Regions from separate parts of the Homo sapiens genome. Here region 2 is linked to region 1. Evidence: promoter capture Hi-C in 16 types of primary human blood cells and fetal thymus (Javierre and others, 2016). All regions are on one chromosome and are shown on one strand. The core of a region is centred on a gene start or on the middle of the fragment in contact, and the rest is flanking DNA. Distances in the headings are between cores, read along the strand shown. Region 1 holds the start of ZC3H15 (zinc finger CCCH-type containing 15). Region 2 holds the start of PRKRA (protein activator of interferon induced protein kinase EIF2AK2).

Region 1 (7,000 bases), core at 3,371-5,870:
TATGTGTGTTTCAGAAGACAACTTGGGACATGAATACAGAGGAGTCTCGAAAGAAAAGGATGACTTCCTGAGGCTCCAAGAGCCTTAACACTCAGTAAATTCCAGGCTTCACTTAAAACTTCCCTCCCATCCGTACGTAATCCCATTCCTTTTACGGGCCAGCCTCCACTGCTTAAATAAGATGTTTGGAAAAAGGGAAGCAGCGGAAGGGCAGGTCAACACTGAATAGTGCTCCAAGATAATGGAGTCTACCCTCTTGGGACATTCGGGTAGGCAGAAGCTGTCACGGTTTTCCCTCATTAGTTTTCTCCCAAATGCACTAATGTATTCTTGTTGTCCATCCATGCAATATATATTATGCAACTGGTTAATCCAGCTTCAAGTAATCAACATTTGATTTTGGCTATTGGTAGCTGTTCTACACTGGCAACCAATTTCTCTTGCTCCATCTTTCACGACACCTGGATCCTGTCTCTATAGGTCCCTATTACTATTTCCTTGCTGATACAAGTTCTTAGCTGGGTATCTTTTATTTGCTTGCCCTAAGTCCAAGATTATTTCCTTCTTTCCATATTCAAACTTTCTATTGCTCAATACTGACTCCATTTGTCACTAAATTTTAGTTGTAAGAAAGCAAATGGTATATGCCATTTCAGACTAATGTGTTAATTTCTAACAGAACCATAATCCTGTTTGACATATTCATTTCGGAAAGTATTAATACAAATGAATTCATAAAGTTTTGGGGCATTTGAAGAGGCAAATAAAAAAAATGGAGGCAATATTAAAAAATGGAGGCAATATTAAAAAATGGGCAGGAACTAAGCACTGTATAGACTGTGCAGATCAGTCTGATGTCCCCTAGTTTTTATTTATAATACACTATCAAAATAGGCAATAACAATAGCTGCCATTTACTGAATATATACACCATATGGCAGGCACTTTACATGTATTATCTCATTTAACTCACGGGAACTAGCTGCATTTTGCAGATGAGAATTGCATTCCAGCTAGATTTTGTAACTTGTCTAAAACTATAGAGCTAGTAATTTGAAACATGGGACTCAAACCCAGGTCTCTGACTCCAAAGCTAGTGTTCCTTTCATTAATTTATGCTATCTGATGTCTCTTTTACTTCCTTAGAGTTCCCAAAACCTGCATGTTGATTTTTCCACAGTGAAGGTCCATAGAGGTGGCAGCAGAACAGGTACAGAAGAGGAAAGAGGTAGGTAGGACAACCATTATTTTCAAGTCTATTGAAACGTGCTGCTTAAAAATACATGTTTTAGTTAACTATTAATTTTGAGCAATTTAGAATTTCAGGTCATACAGCTATAAAACCTCCCAAAGTTAACCAGATTCTGAAATAAGTATCAGTCTTTATATGTCAAAATAGACTATAAAAAAGTAGTATTTCCCCCTCCAAAATTATAACAGTCACAGAGATCAATTATCTTCTTGGAATAGTCACTGAGACGTGCTAGGCTTTTAGGGAAGTTTAAAAAAAAAGTTGCCTATATAATGAAGCAGACTATATCATTTCCTAACCAGGCTGAATAACAGAATAGTCTCTATAAATCTAATTTCACAAATGCTGTAACTTAACACTACAATTCAAAATATTGTTGTACCTCTCCAGTAGTAGCAAATATCAATGTTGCACATGAGTCTGACAAACTTTGTTGCAGTATTTTTTGAAAAAGCTCATCAGGTCCCTGGACCAGAACATAAAAGAACATCTAGATTACAAGATGTCAGGCTAGGAGGACCTTCTTAAAGGCAAGTGGACACATTTCAAAGGAAACAAACTATGATCACTGAGAAACAAATGGAATATTTGAACATCTTGTTCACTAAGAACCCATACCCAAACCTCAGTCTTCAGAAAGAAATGGCCTCAAAGACATACATCCAACGGTACTGCAGGTTAGGTTAAAGAATGATAGCACAAAACACAAGAAAGCAAAATGCAAGCATATTCAGCAAAAGCAAGAAGCTCAACAACTGCAATTAACTGAGGGTGTAGTCAAGACCAGTCCTTCCCAGAGAAATAGACACACCACCCAGATCCCCTAATGATGCCTATCCTGTAGCTCTAATGTATACAGATGATTGGACACTCTCATGCCAACTCAGCGTATGCCCCAAGGTTAAGGTCCCTACAGATGACTCCATTAGCCACAAAATAATCCATTCTGGCTGCCGAGATTTTAACAAACACCGCCTCTAACCCATTTTGGAATCCTAAGTTTGTTTTTCAAGCGTCAATTATAACGTCTTTTGGTTCCTCCAAGTAGAGAGAGACACTAAACACAAAAGGTGACATATTGTAATGGTTCCCATACAAGAGAATACTTTTCAGCAATAAGGAACATACTAGAAATATACACAACATGCATGGATCTCAAAAACACTGCATGGTGTGAAAGCAAGAAGAAGGACACAAAGGCTACCTACTGTATAATTTATATGAGTTCCTAGAGTGGTAAAAACTAATCTATCCTGTCAAAAAAATTAGTGGCTGCACGTGTGGAAAGAATTAAATAGAAAGAGGCACAAAACAAATTTAGTGGGGTGATAGAAATGTTTCAAGTCTTAATTAGGGTGGCAGCTACCTGGGTGAATAAATTCCTCAAAACACATAGAACTATACATCTAGAACCTGTACATTTTATTTTACATAAGTTATACCTCAACAAAAAATAAATTAAAAAAATAATATATATTAAATGTAGAAAACACAAAATCGGGCTTAATTTCACCACTTTGTTGTTGTTAATATTTTTAGTTAAAAAGTGCAGTTGTCTTATTTTGCATTTTTCTTTGGAGATACCTTCATTATTGAAACTAAAATTGCTTTCTCTTTAGCTAAAAAATAATTTCGTCACAAGATGACTAGAATCATAACATATGCATCATTTTAAAAGTTGATGGATACTATAAACAACTTTCACACATAATTCCTTAAAATAAGAATACTAGTCCTACTAATTAAAAATAAAACAATTAGATATAGAGAAAGCTCTACAATGCATGAAGTATAATTTAAATTGTCTAAATTATTACATAACATTTAATTTCAATGGGAGTTTTACTTCGTATCAGGGTCCAATCTCGAGGAAAACGACATCCCTAAAATGTCCTTGGTTTTCATAAAAGTGAATGCCATCCGATCAGCAACCCCTGAAATTTACCTAAGTGCCACGAATCCAGATTGTTCAAATAAGGTAATAGAAAACACAGATGTGAAGGTAATATTTTGTTTTTAAGTGTCTGGCTATAGTACTTCATGACAGTTTTAAACTGTACAAATTGGCAATAAGAATACCAGTTCTCCTCCAAAGTTGGAACCTGGCCAAGTATAGCAAAATTCTTAAGCATTTTCTTAAATCCAATGAGCAGACTTTACACCTTATGCGGTAAAATGGTCATGGCTTTTTCTAATTATATCCAAAGTACAAGAGGTCCTATTTAATTATGAGGAGGATTAATAGCAGAAATCGAGGGAAGAAATACCTCGTTGGGGTCTGTATGGTATGTTTACGTAATGTCAAATATGGTTCATCTTTTAAGGAAACTCAATTCAGTTGTTGGAAAACAAGTGCACAACATGTAAGAACGTCAATAGCGTTCCTTGGCCATTAAAGGGCTACAGGCTCAATGTGTTAAACGAATATATATACACACACATATATACACATATACACACACATAGATGTATACATATATACACGCGCACACACACACATATATCTCAAACTGGGTTACGGGACTTCACACAATTAGTGACACTGAAACCTAATCTCTTTTAAGGCGTTATCCTATTTAATCCACTTCAGAATGTAAGTACCAAGCTCTGCGTTCAAGACCCTGGGTTGTGACGGAAAGTCCTTCCATTCTTTATGGGACTTTAAACATTTCAGAGGTGGATCGAAAAAGCCACCAAGTCGTAATTTGTTGGTTCAAAAGAACTAACAGTACCATCCCTGGGTGACGGGTAAAGAAATAACGAACACAAAGACTCGTCATGAGTCGGTCTTCCAGAAAGACGCTGGCCCGAGACCGTTCAGCGTATTTCTTCACACATAACCTTGGAAAATCTCCTCAATTCTGAGAGGACTAGCGAAGGATAAAACCCTGTGCCAGTCCCGAGGGGTCATTTCGCACCCGGGTGCATGGGTGGGTGAACACGGGCGTGTGGGCGGAGAGGCAAAGCCCAGGTGCGGGGGCGCCAGCAGCGTCACTATAGTAATGAGAGAGCTAGCGTCATCAGGGGCTGGAGAAGGGGCAGTGGGCCACACAGGCCTAAGGGAGGAACACGTGGCCCGAGGAAGCGAGCCGGCTCCCAGGGAAGCCCGGAGCGGGGAAGTGGCTTTCCGGAGGGCTCGCGGCGTGAGTGGGGGAGGGGTGGGTACTCACTTCGATAATCTTCTCCTTCTTTTTTTGCTCCGCCTTTTTGCTGCCCCCGGCCTGAGCCTGTTTCTTGGGGGGCATTGCGGAGACAGATGGCACCGGCCAGACTTACGCGCAGCTGAATACCGTCAGGGGTTCTGGCCCTGCGGCAGGACGAGGAGGAAGACCGGGGCCTCACTCGCCGCACCGCACGGAAAGCGAGTCGCTCATTGGCCCCGCAAACGCGGCCTTTGCGACAGGTCGATGTCGCAGAGCATAGTGGGTAGCGAGGAGCGGCTCCCGGAAGCGGAGCTGCGCGTGCGCGCCCACTGCGTCCCACTAGGAGGGGGCAGGGACGGGACGTGGGAAAATGACTACGCGTCACTCGTGATGTCGCGCATCCGATAGGCCCTTTTCAGATGGCAAAAGGCCTGAGGGTGAATCTGGGCGAGCTGGTTGAGTCCATGCGTTTGTGCTTCCTCTCAGTCCACTTTCGCTTACGATGGGGCGACTCTTGTCCATCGTCACCTCACCGGGAAACTTTTCCTGCCGGGCCAGTTAATGGTCCCCTGTACCATCCCCATCCTGAGTGACTACTAAGCAGCCGCAGCGACTCGGGGTTGCTCCGTGACCACGTTACTCAGTTAACCTTCTTGTTCCCTGGAGAGGCGGAGCTGAATGGCCCGTGAGTGTCGCGTGCTTCAGATTCCTGCGAAGGATTATTTAAAAAATGGAAAAAGTTAACTTTCATTTGCAGGGTCCCTTTCATTTGAAGAGCATCTGAGATGGCGTCCCAGATAAGGAGGCACTTGAACTCCTTAGAAGTACTGTATTAAGTTATTTTGAGACTTTAGGAGAGTGCCTAGGTGATTCCTAAAAATTCCTTTATAACGTGAAAGTAACCAAACTTAGTTAGAACTTAGTTTAAGTGCTTGGTAGCTCCAGAAATTCCTTGGCACATTACACACACTATTTCATTTAGTTATCACAACGACACTTAGGTGGGAGTTGTTACTGTTTTCGTTTTATAGATGAAGCAGAGAAAGGAAGAAAGATGCCCAAAGTTATATTAAGGACAGAGCCAGCAATTGTAATCTTGGCAGTCCGGCTTCAGCCTATATGCCTATTACCTAACATTACAAACTTAGATCCTGTTTGAAAAGGTACTTGAATGATGAATGGGACCCATTGATATTTGTACAAACGAAAATACTATTTTTTAAAAATGTACAATGCTTAGCTGTTATTTTTTAAAATGATTATTGTTTAAACTATTTCTGTTAAGAAGCATTGTGGAACCAAGAATCATCTTTATAGATAAAAGTTTTTTTATCTTTTTCATTAATTTGAATAGGGAGAAAACGATAAGCCCCCCTACTTAGTCAAATTGATTATTTGCTTAGTAATTTTCTACGTAAGATAATGTCAAGGAACCCCAAGTATGTTTTGTGTGTGTATGTGTGTGTGTAGAAGAAATGTGATAGCTACTAAAAAGAATTGTGTCGAGAATGGCAGGTGTATGTTGACACACTTTTTTTCATTTGGGCTCATATTGGCAGGTTAATGGGCTCCCCCCCTTTTACATATTTTCATCTTTATTTTTTGTAATTGTCATAGTTCTTGTCAGAGGATGGAGGGATGCAGCCAGCCCCCTCTTTACTCAGTATTATTATCCATTTGATTATTTGGGGATCGTCTCCTTTGAGACTTTGTTTGCATATGGAATGTAGTTGTCTTAACTTCCTACTTTTAGTGCCCCAAAGATGCCCTTTGGGCCTTTGATTTTGAGTAATTTTACTGATTATTATTATGAGGCAAATGAATTATAAGTAACAAATATGGGGAAGTTACAAAGAATCTAGAGTCTCATAATGTTATGATAATGGCTCCAGTTTCATGGTTCATAACTTCTTCTGTCTCCTGACCTTTGCTTTCGGTTTTTTCCTCTGAAGTGTAGCCCAGGTAGAGAACAAAGATCCTTTCTTGCCTCAAGTGGAAAATACACATTTCTGAATATAGTACATGCTCTTATAGCACTCTCCCTCGTACACTATTTCTTCATACATTTTAGAAATAAGGAAGTCCAACTCATTGAATTCACTACTTTTTGAAATAAGGTACATGGTTTTTCCTGGTCTCAAATAGCAAATGGTAGCAGGGCTGGGACTTTTATGTCTTCTACTGCTATTTTTATTGACCTTACAATTCAAACGAAACTTTCACAAAACAGTGCTTAGAAGGCATAGTCCAAGGGTTACAATTCATATACCCAAGAAAGCAGGGCTATAAACTTGAGCGTCAGGATGAGTGAAATACATTAGGAAGTTGTGGGAACAGTGTTAAACCTGAGGTAAATGCCCACCGTAAAAGAACTAAAAGAAAAACTGTCAAACCTGACTGCTTCGATTTGGTAGACAGGCTGTGAATTTACTGCCTTGGATATAGCCATTTGGATAACTTTACATTTATTGGAATGTATCAGATGTAATAGATTAAGGCAGTAGATTTTGTACTGAATAGAAATTATTGTTTGCTATCCAGCATTCTAATGTCCTTCTGTATAGGAAGGAAGCCCTATGTCTCAGGCTTTTAATCTCAAGAAAAC
Region 2 (7,000 bases), core at 561-3,060, 8.0 Mb after region 1:
AGTGGACCTAGTCCAAAGGGAATTCCTTCACAAGTCCACCACCGGAATTTTGGCAACACCAAAGTGCTGTTTTGAATCCTCATGGCATACAGCTCATTGATTGAGCATTTCATTCATTTTCCATCTTATATGCTTACAAAACTGTGTTTAATATTAAATATAAATTCACAGATATAAACAATTATATGCAAATCTTTATTTAAAAAATAAAGCCACATTACATATAAGTAACTATATAAACTATTACCTAGTGGTTTCTTACTCTGAAGTTGGGCACACAGACTCTCTCTCTTTGAAATGGAGTCCTGCTGCATCTTTTTGTTTCATTATTATCCCAGCTACTTAACCTTTAACAAGAGCTATATAAAGTTCTGGCCTGTTTTTAAGTAATTTTGTGGCAAAAAATGAATTTTACCTGAGTGCTGAAATGTTTTGCCATAGGTGTTATGCGGAGTTCATATATTGTGAAATACTGACTATGTAGCCCTTCCAATAAGATATCCATTAAAACAGTGATGGATAGTAATCTATATACATACATATATAGACGGAGAGGAAGAGAGAATAGGCTCTAATTAAAGCATCAGATGATATAATTTGATTAGATTCTGAACATCTTTCACTTGTTTCAAGCATCCAGGGCTTACATGCTAACAAAACAACAAATCGCTTTTTTTTTTTTTTTTTTTTTTGAGAGGGAGTCTGACTCTGTCGCCCAGGCTGGAGTGCAGTGGCGCGATCTCGGCTCACTGCAACATTTGCCTCCCGGGTTCAAGCGATTCTCCTGCTTTAGCCTCCCGAGTAGCTGGGATTACAGGCGCATGCCACCACGCCCGGCTAATTTTTGTATTTTTAGTAGAGACAGGGTTTCACCATGTTGGCCAGGCTGGTCTCGAACTGCTTACTTCAGGCGATCCGCCAGCCTCGGCCTCCTAAAGTGCTGGGATTACAGGCGTGAGCCACCGCGCCCGCCCATAAATCACTTTTAATAATATCCTTTCGTACGAATAGCATTGTGCAAGCAATCTTCCATAACACCGAGTAAGCACAGGGGAGCATTTCTGCTAGTGCCTAGCAAGCCCCTGGAGAAGCGACACGTCATCTAATGGCCCACCAAAGGTGCTGCATCCCAGGCAAACGCCATTACAACCGACTACCCAGGTCCCCGGAAAGGCCTTCGTTTACTCCTAACGTGTTTTGCTGGGATGCACTGACCCAGCGTTCCATCTCGCGACGAAAGCCCAGAAGACAAAGGAGCCCGCCCGGCGGGAGAGGAGCGGGTGTTTGGACGTCCCCGCGTGTTCCTAAACACAGGGCTCGGGGACCCGAAGAGCGCACCGCAGCCCCCTGGAGCGTATATATCCGGGGTCTCAAGCTTCAGGACCAGGCCCGGGAGACTCCCTGGAATTCTGCCTTCGTAATTTTAGAATCTTTTTCTTAAAGTGACCCAGCCCCCAATCCGTCCTCCCCACAAAGGCTTAACTTTAGGCCTCAACGACCCTAGACCCACGCCGGACAATCCCTCTAATCCCTCTCTCCCGGCAAGAAACGGCCTCCTGCTAAGGACAAAGAACTGCGGCCTAGGGGCCAGTTACTACAGGCTGGTCAGGGCCGGCAGGGGCGGGCGCGGAGAACCCCCGGGAGCCCAATGCCTGTGCCCACGCGGGAGCGGGGCGGAGCCGGGCGGGAAGGGGGCGGACCCTGGAAGGGACAGGGGCGGAGTTGGGCCGGGACGGAGGCCCGCAGAGGAGCAGCGAGGGGGCGTAGCCGGAGCTACGGCACCAAGGCTCCGCCCCCACCCTGCCTGCCCCCTCGCTGGAGCAACGCAAGCAGGAGGCGGGGGAGTCGGAGGAGGTGGCGGCGCTGGAGCTCCTCCCGGGGACCAGCGACCCGGGGAGCGAGCACGTCGCTCCGCACCGCTCTTCCTCCAGCCGCTGAGCCGTCCCTTCTCGCCATGTCCCAGAGCAGGCACCGCGCCGAGGCCCCGCCGCTGGAGCGCGAGGACAGTGGGACCTTCAGGTCAGCGTGCGGGCAGTCAGGGCCCCAGGGCCGGGAGCGTTGGGCGGCAGGGCCGGGGCGCGGGGAGCCGGCCCTCCAGAGGCATTCTGGGTAAAGCCGTGCCCGGCGCCCACGCCTCCGCGGCTGTGGGTGCTCGGCCCCGCCCTCTCGGCGGCGAGGGTTGGGGTCTGCGGCCGGGCCCCGCCCCTCTCGTGGTCCCTGGCGGCGCGCGGGGCGGGCGGAGGTGACGCTCGGTCGGCGCGCCCGGGAAGGGATCGTCAGGTTTTCCCTGAGAGGCTGCGGCGCTGCTGCCAGCCCTGTTCTGTTGAGAATCTCTCCTACCCGCATTCAAGTGCTCTCTCTAAAGACCTCGCTCACCCCGCCTGCTCCTGCGGAGTGACTGCCGCAGCGGGGCCGGAAGACAGGTGCGCCCCAGCCTCGCCAGCTCTGGCCCTGGCCTCCGGGGAACTCGGCGCCTCCCTCGTCACCGTCGGTGGCGGTTAAAACTGGCCTCTACGCTTCTGCTTCAATCTCCAATTTGGCATGCAAAGCACACCTTTTTGTGGTTTTTGCAGTTTGGGGAAGATGATAACAGCTAAGCCAGGGAAAACACCGATTCAGGTATTACACGAATACGGCATGAAGACCAAGAACATCCCAGTTTATGAATGTGAAAGATCTGATGTGCAAATACACGTGCCCACTTTCACCTTCAGAGTAACCGTTGGTGACATAACCTGCACAGGTCTGTATACACAGTTAACCTGGATGACCGAGTGGGTTGGCAGTCAATACTTGGTGTTGCTTTTCAGTTCGGAAAAGTTCTCTTTTTGCCAGACAGCTGTGAGGAACAGGCTCTGAAACTGAGACCTCTCATCTCAGGTCGTTAGGGCTTTTCAGCTGCATCTGATTCTCTTCCTAATTTTCTCTTCCCCACATACCAAGGAAGCTTAGAAACTAAAAAGTTACCCAGCCGGATGGCTGGATCCTGCATGGCTCTTCTCATACCCTAGGATCCTCCTAGGGTTCTTCTTAGAATTAGAGGGAAGCAGGAAAGGTTCTTGGAGCAGTCATAGCTGGGTCAGTAGGTACTGTGAAGTTTCATAGATTATAGCGGATGCCAGGAGGCATGACCCCAGAATTTTCTGAGCGTCTCTCCTCTCTGTATGGACTCATTTGGCACTTTAGGTCCATTGTGCTACTTTTGATTCTGTATCCAAACAAAATGAGGAAGGGGAGAAGGTCCTCATATATTACATAATAACTTCTAGTTTTTGAAACTGAACAGATATTTTGTATATTATCCACTTTTTAAACAAGAAGAAACAGGTTCAGAGAGATTATAAGTAACATGCGTATAGCAATGAAGTCACAAAGCAATGAAATTTTAAAGTTCATGCTTTCTTTTGGTCTGTGAGCTTGAGCAAATGATAACTAAAGTTGCTCATTTGTAAATGTGGACATTATTTTTCTTATGTATCTATTTAATTGCAAACACAGAAAACATTGGATGCTAAATTTAATTTGGAAGAATGCCAAGAAAAAAATTTAGTAGGAAGGCTCAAGTTCTACCATCTGGAAAATCTGAAGACAGCATTTGTTTGTGTCCCTGGAAGTTTGGAGTCTTTTATTTTAATTGATGCCACTTTAAGAAAAGTTTAAAACTTTTTGTGTGAGGCAGTTAGATTGTAGGTGCTGGCCGGAAGGGTCCCCATGGGAACCATAGAGTCAACACTGCATTACTTACTTTAGCTAGTCTATTTCTAGATAGGAAGAATTCAAGAAAAGGGAGGGTTTTTCCCTCTCAATGTGTTTTAGACCCCAAATTAACAACCTATGGCAACCGTTCTGCCTACGCCCTCTTCTCACACTACCATGGCTTCCTGTGCAAGCTTATCTGCCTCCATGGCTTCTGATACTGTCTAAAGACTAATATTCTGAAATGTCTGTCTACATCCCAAGCCCAGTTACAGAATAGTGTATCAGTCTGTGCTTGCTGAGCATCTTTGCCTGGATGACACAGAGGCCCCTCAAGCCTCTCATTGTCCCAAACTGAATCCATCTTTTCCCTCAAACCCATTCTTCTTGCATTCCCTTTCTATGTAAAGGCTCCACAATCACCTAGTTCAGTAGAAATGTAGGCTTTTGTCTTCCTAACTACTTCCCGTCTTTCTCCCTCTTGTCCAGTCTGTTATTAAACTCTATCCATTGGCGTTTAATAATCCACTAACTATCCATTGAATCTGTCGGCTTCTCTCTTCTGGCCATTGCTACTGCCTAGGCCACCATCATCTCTCACTTGGATTGTAGCTGCAGTCTTGTAGCTACACGTTTACCTTCTAGTCTTGTGATGTCCTTTTGTCACATTACAACCAGTGTTCATTCTTTTTTTTTTGAGACAGGGTCTCACTCTGTCACCCAGGCTAGAGTGCAGTGGCATGATCTTGGCTCACTGCAACCTCCGCTACAGCCTGCACTTAGGCTTGTTGTAACATATCCCATTCCATACTTCAGGTGCCTATTAACAGACAAAAATCCCACACTACTCTGTTGGCTCTTGAGGGCAGGGACCCTGTATGCTATATCCCTAATACCTGTGTTAGCAGATAAATATATGGTTTCTGTGTCTTCTTACACTTGAGGGCCACACTTGAAGGCCACACTTGAAACTTATTCCATGAGGGTATGGGAGTTTGAACTTAAAAGGAAAAAGATGGAATTTATCATTTGCCATTGTGATTGCTTACTGAAATTAGACATCAGTCTTATCCCCAGTCCCAACTTAGCTACCCATGCAGAAGATACAGACCGTCCAGAAGATACATAACAAGCTGTCACCTTATTCCATAAAACTCTTTCCTGTTGTACCCAACACATAATCATGACTGCTCAGCCTAGCAAAGCAGTTTGATACGTTATAGGACAGGCTGTCAGAATAAAATTATGCACATTTTGCTATCAAACAATTCTGCTGTAAATGGTTCCTTTAAAAGAAACTTCTTGCTGCAGAAGAATTTCCCCTCCAGGAATAAAGGAAGAGTAAAATACTAATCTGCATTTCTTCAGAGGTGTGACACGGTCTACTTTATTACCATGTTATATAATAAACATATATAATGTAGAAATAAGGATTTTTATGCAGGTATGCATAGAATTATATAGAACTTTAAAAAGTTATTTTTTAAAATTTTTTCACATGGTGAATATTTTATTACAGTATATAACCATGTAGTATATAACATGTACATATTTTTATGTACAGTATATAACGTACATATTTTTATTACCTAGTATGTGTATGTAAAATCTATAGTGACTTTGTTTTGTGTATTGAAAACATCTTTGTAAGCTGCACATTTTTGTGGGAGATAAAGACTTCTTTTTTTAAATCTTAATTCAGGTGAAGGTACAAGTAAGAAGCTGGCGAAACATAGAGCTGCAGAGGCTGCCATAAACATTTTGAAAGCCAATGCAAGTATTTGGTGAGCTAAATTTCTTTGTATTCAGCAGCTCAAAAATATCATGGCTGAGGTAAGATTAAAAATTTGAACATGCTTACAAAAGCAACAAAGTGAACAGTTGTTAGCATCCTACCTCTCAAATTCTATTTCCTTATGAAAACTTATCATCCATTAAAGAAAACTTTATCCAATCAAATCCAGCAATTAGCTATTAAATGAAGGTGCTCATGAACTAGGCTTTACTGTTTTTTTTTTTTTAATGGGATACAACAGTAGAAAATCAGTGCTTCTTGCAAATATTAATATTAACATTTTGTATTTAGACTTTGATTATTTCTACATTGAAGAAAACAAAGTGTGAGATGGAGAAAGATCCACTAAAAGTACTCTTTTGGGAATTCTAATTTTGAAGAAGCAGGCAGAGGTTTTCTTTTATTATATAATGTATACCAAAAGAAGAGAATGTTAAGTGGGATATTAATTCTTGACATATCTTTCTAAAGTAAGATTTTTTTTTTTTTTTTTTTTTTTTTGAGACGGAGTCTCGCTCTGTCGCCCAGTCTGGAGTGCAGTGGCGGGATCTCGGCTCACTGCAAGCTCCGCCTCCCGGGTTCACGCCATTCTCCTGCCTCAGCCTCCCAAGTAGCTGGGACTACAGGCGCCCGCCACTACGCCCAGCTAATTTTTTGTATTTTTAGTAGAGACGGGGTTTCACCGTTTTAGCCGGGATGGTCTCGATCTCCTGACCTCGTGATCCGCCAGCCTCGGCCTCCCAAAGTGCTGGGATAGATTTTTTACTACTTTAGGTGTTTCTAGATAGAATATTGGTCCTGGAGCATCTCACATATTAAAGTAGTGTCCACTGGGTGCACTCTGGAGCTTGGCATGCTTTCAAGTTCTTCTTGTGCATACACTTACATATGCCTGAAGTACGATCTGTGTAATCAGCTTATAGTTGACAGTAGAGACCCAGGGAATTTGGGATGGGTTTTTTGTTCCCTAGTCATAGAAAGGCTTTTGGATTAGGGGTGTAGTTAGGTTCTCATGTAGTATTCCTCTCTTTTTGTAAATCATTCTAAACCGTTTGGGTAGTTTAGAACTAACCAGTGACATGGCAACCCTCTAGATAAGCAGCTGCCCAAGACAAGCCTTGCATTTCACAAGATGATGCTTGATTCTCTAGGGTCATGCATTATAATTGATCTATGCCAGGCTGGGCGGGGTGGCTCACGCCTGTAATCCCAGCACTTTGGGAGGCTGAGGTGGGTGGATCACTTGAGGCCAGGAGTTCAAGACCAGCCTGGCCAACATGGCAAAACCCTGTCTCTACTAAAAATACAAAAATTAGCCAGGCATGGTGGCAGGCGCCTGTAATCCCAGCTACTTGGGTGGCTGAGGCACAAAAATCGCTTGAACCCGGGAGGCGGAGATTGCAGTAAGCTAAGATTGTGCCCCTGCACTCCAGCCTGTGAAACCCTGCCTCAAAGAAAAACAAGGCCAGGCATGGTGGCTCACACCTGTAATCCCAGCACTTTGGGAGG

The links. The method cuts DNA at HindIII sites, captures the fragments that hold promoters and counts their contacts. A CHiCAGO score of 5 or more calls a contact.
Region 2: the fragment with the promoter of PRKRA here is called in contact with the fragment with the promoter of ZC3H15 in region 1 in 2 of 17 cell types (total B cells and activated CD4 T cells); the score reaches 8.3 in total B cells.

The regions. Positions count from the first base shown.
Region 1 is chr2:186,483,880-186,490,879 of GRCh38, reverse strand. It overlaps ZC3H15 (zinc finger CCCH-type containing 15), which reads right to left and starts at 4,620. Exons shown (of 10, transcript NM_018471.3): 1 at 4,423-4,620. The coding sequence starts at 4,497. It overlaps LOC105373785 (a long non-coding RNA gene), which reads left to right and starts at 4,880. Exons shown (of 2, transcript XR_001739147.3): 1 at 4,880-5,080. It also overlaps the pseudogene DPRXP1. RefSeq lists an enhancer at 4,511-4,990. The HindIII fragment of the contact is 12,604 bases long and covers 1-7,000 here.
Region 2 is chr2:178,445,985-178,452,984 of GRCh38, reverse strand. It overlaps PRKRA (protein activator of interferon induced protein kinase EIF2AK2), which reads left to right and starts at 1,810. Exons shown (of 8, transcript NM_003690.5): 1 at 1,810-2,019; 2 at 2,574-2,743; 3 at 5,399-5,480. The coding sequence starts at 1,955. It overlaps PJVK (pejvakin), which reads right to left and starts at 1,607. Exons shown (of 7, transcript NM_001042702.5): 1 at 1,216-1,607. RefSeq lists a silencer at 1,538-2,317 and an enhancer at 2,080-2,654. The HindIII fragment of the contact is 1,572 bases long and covers 1,378-2,949 here.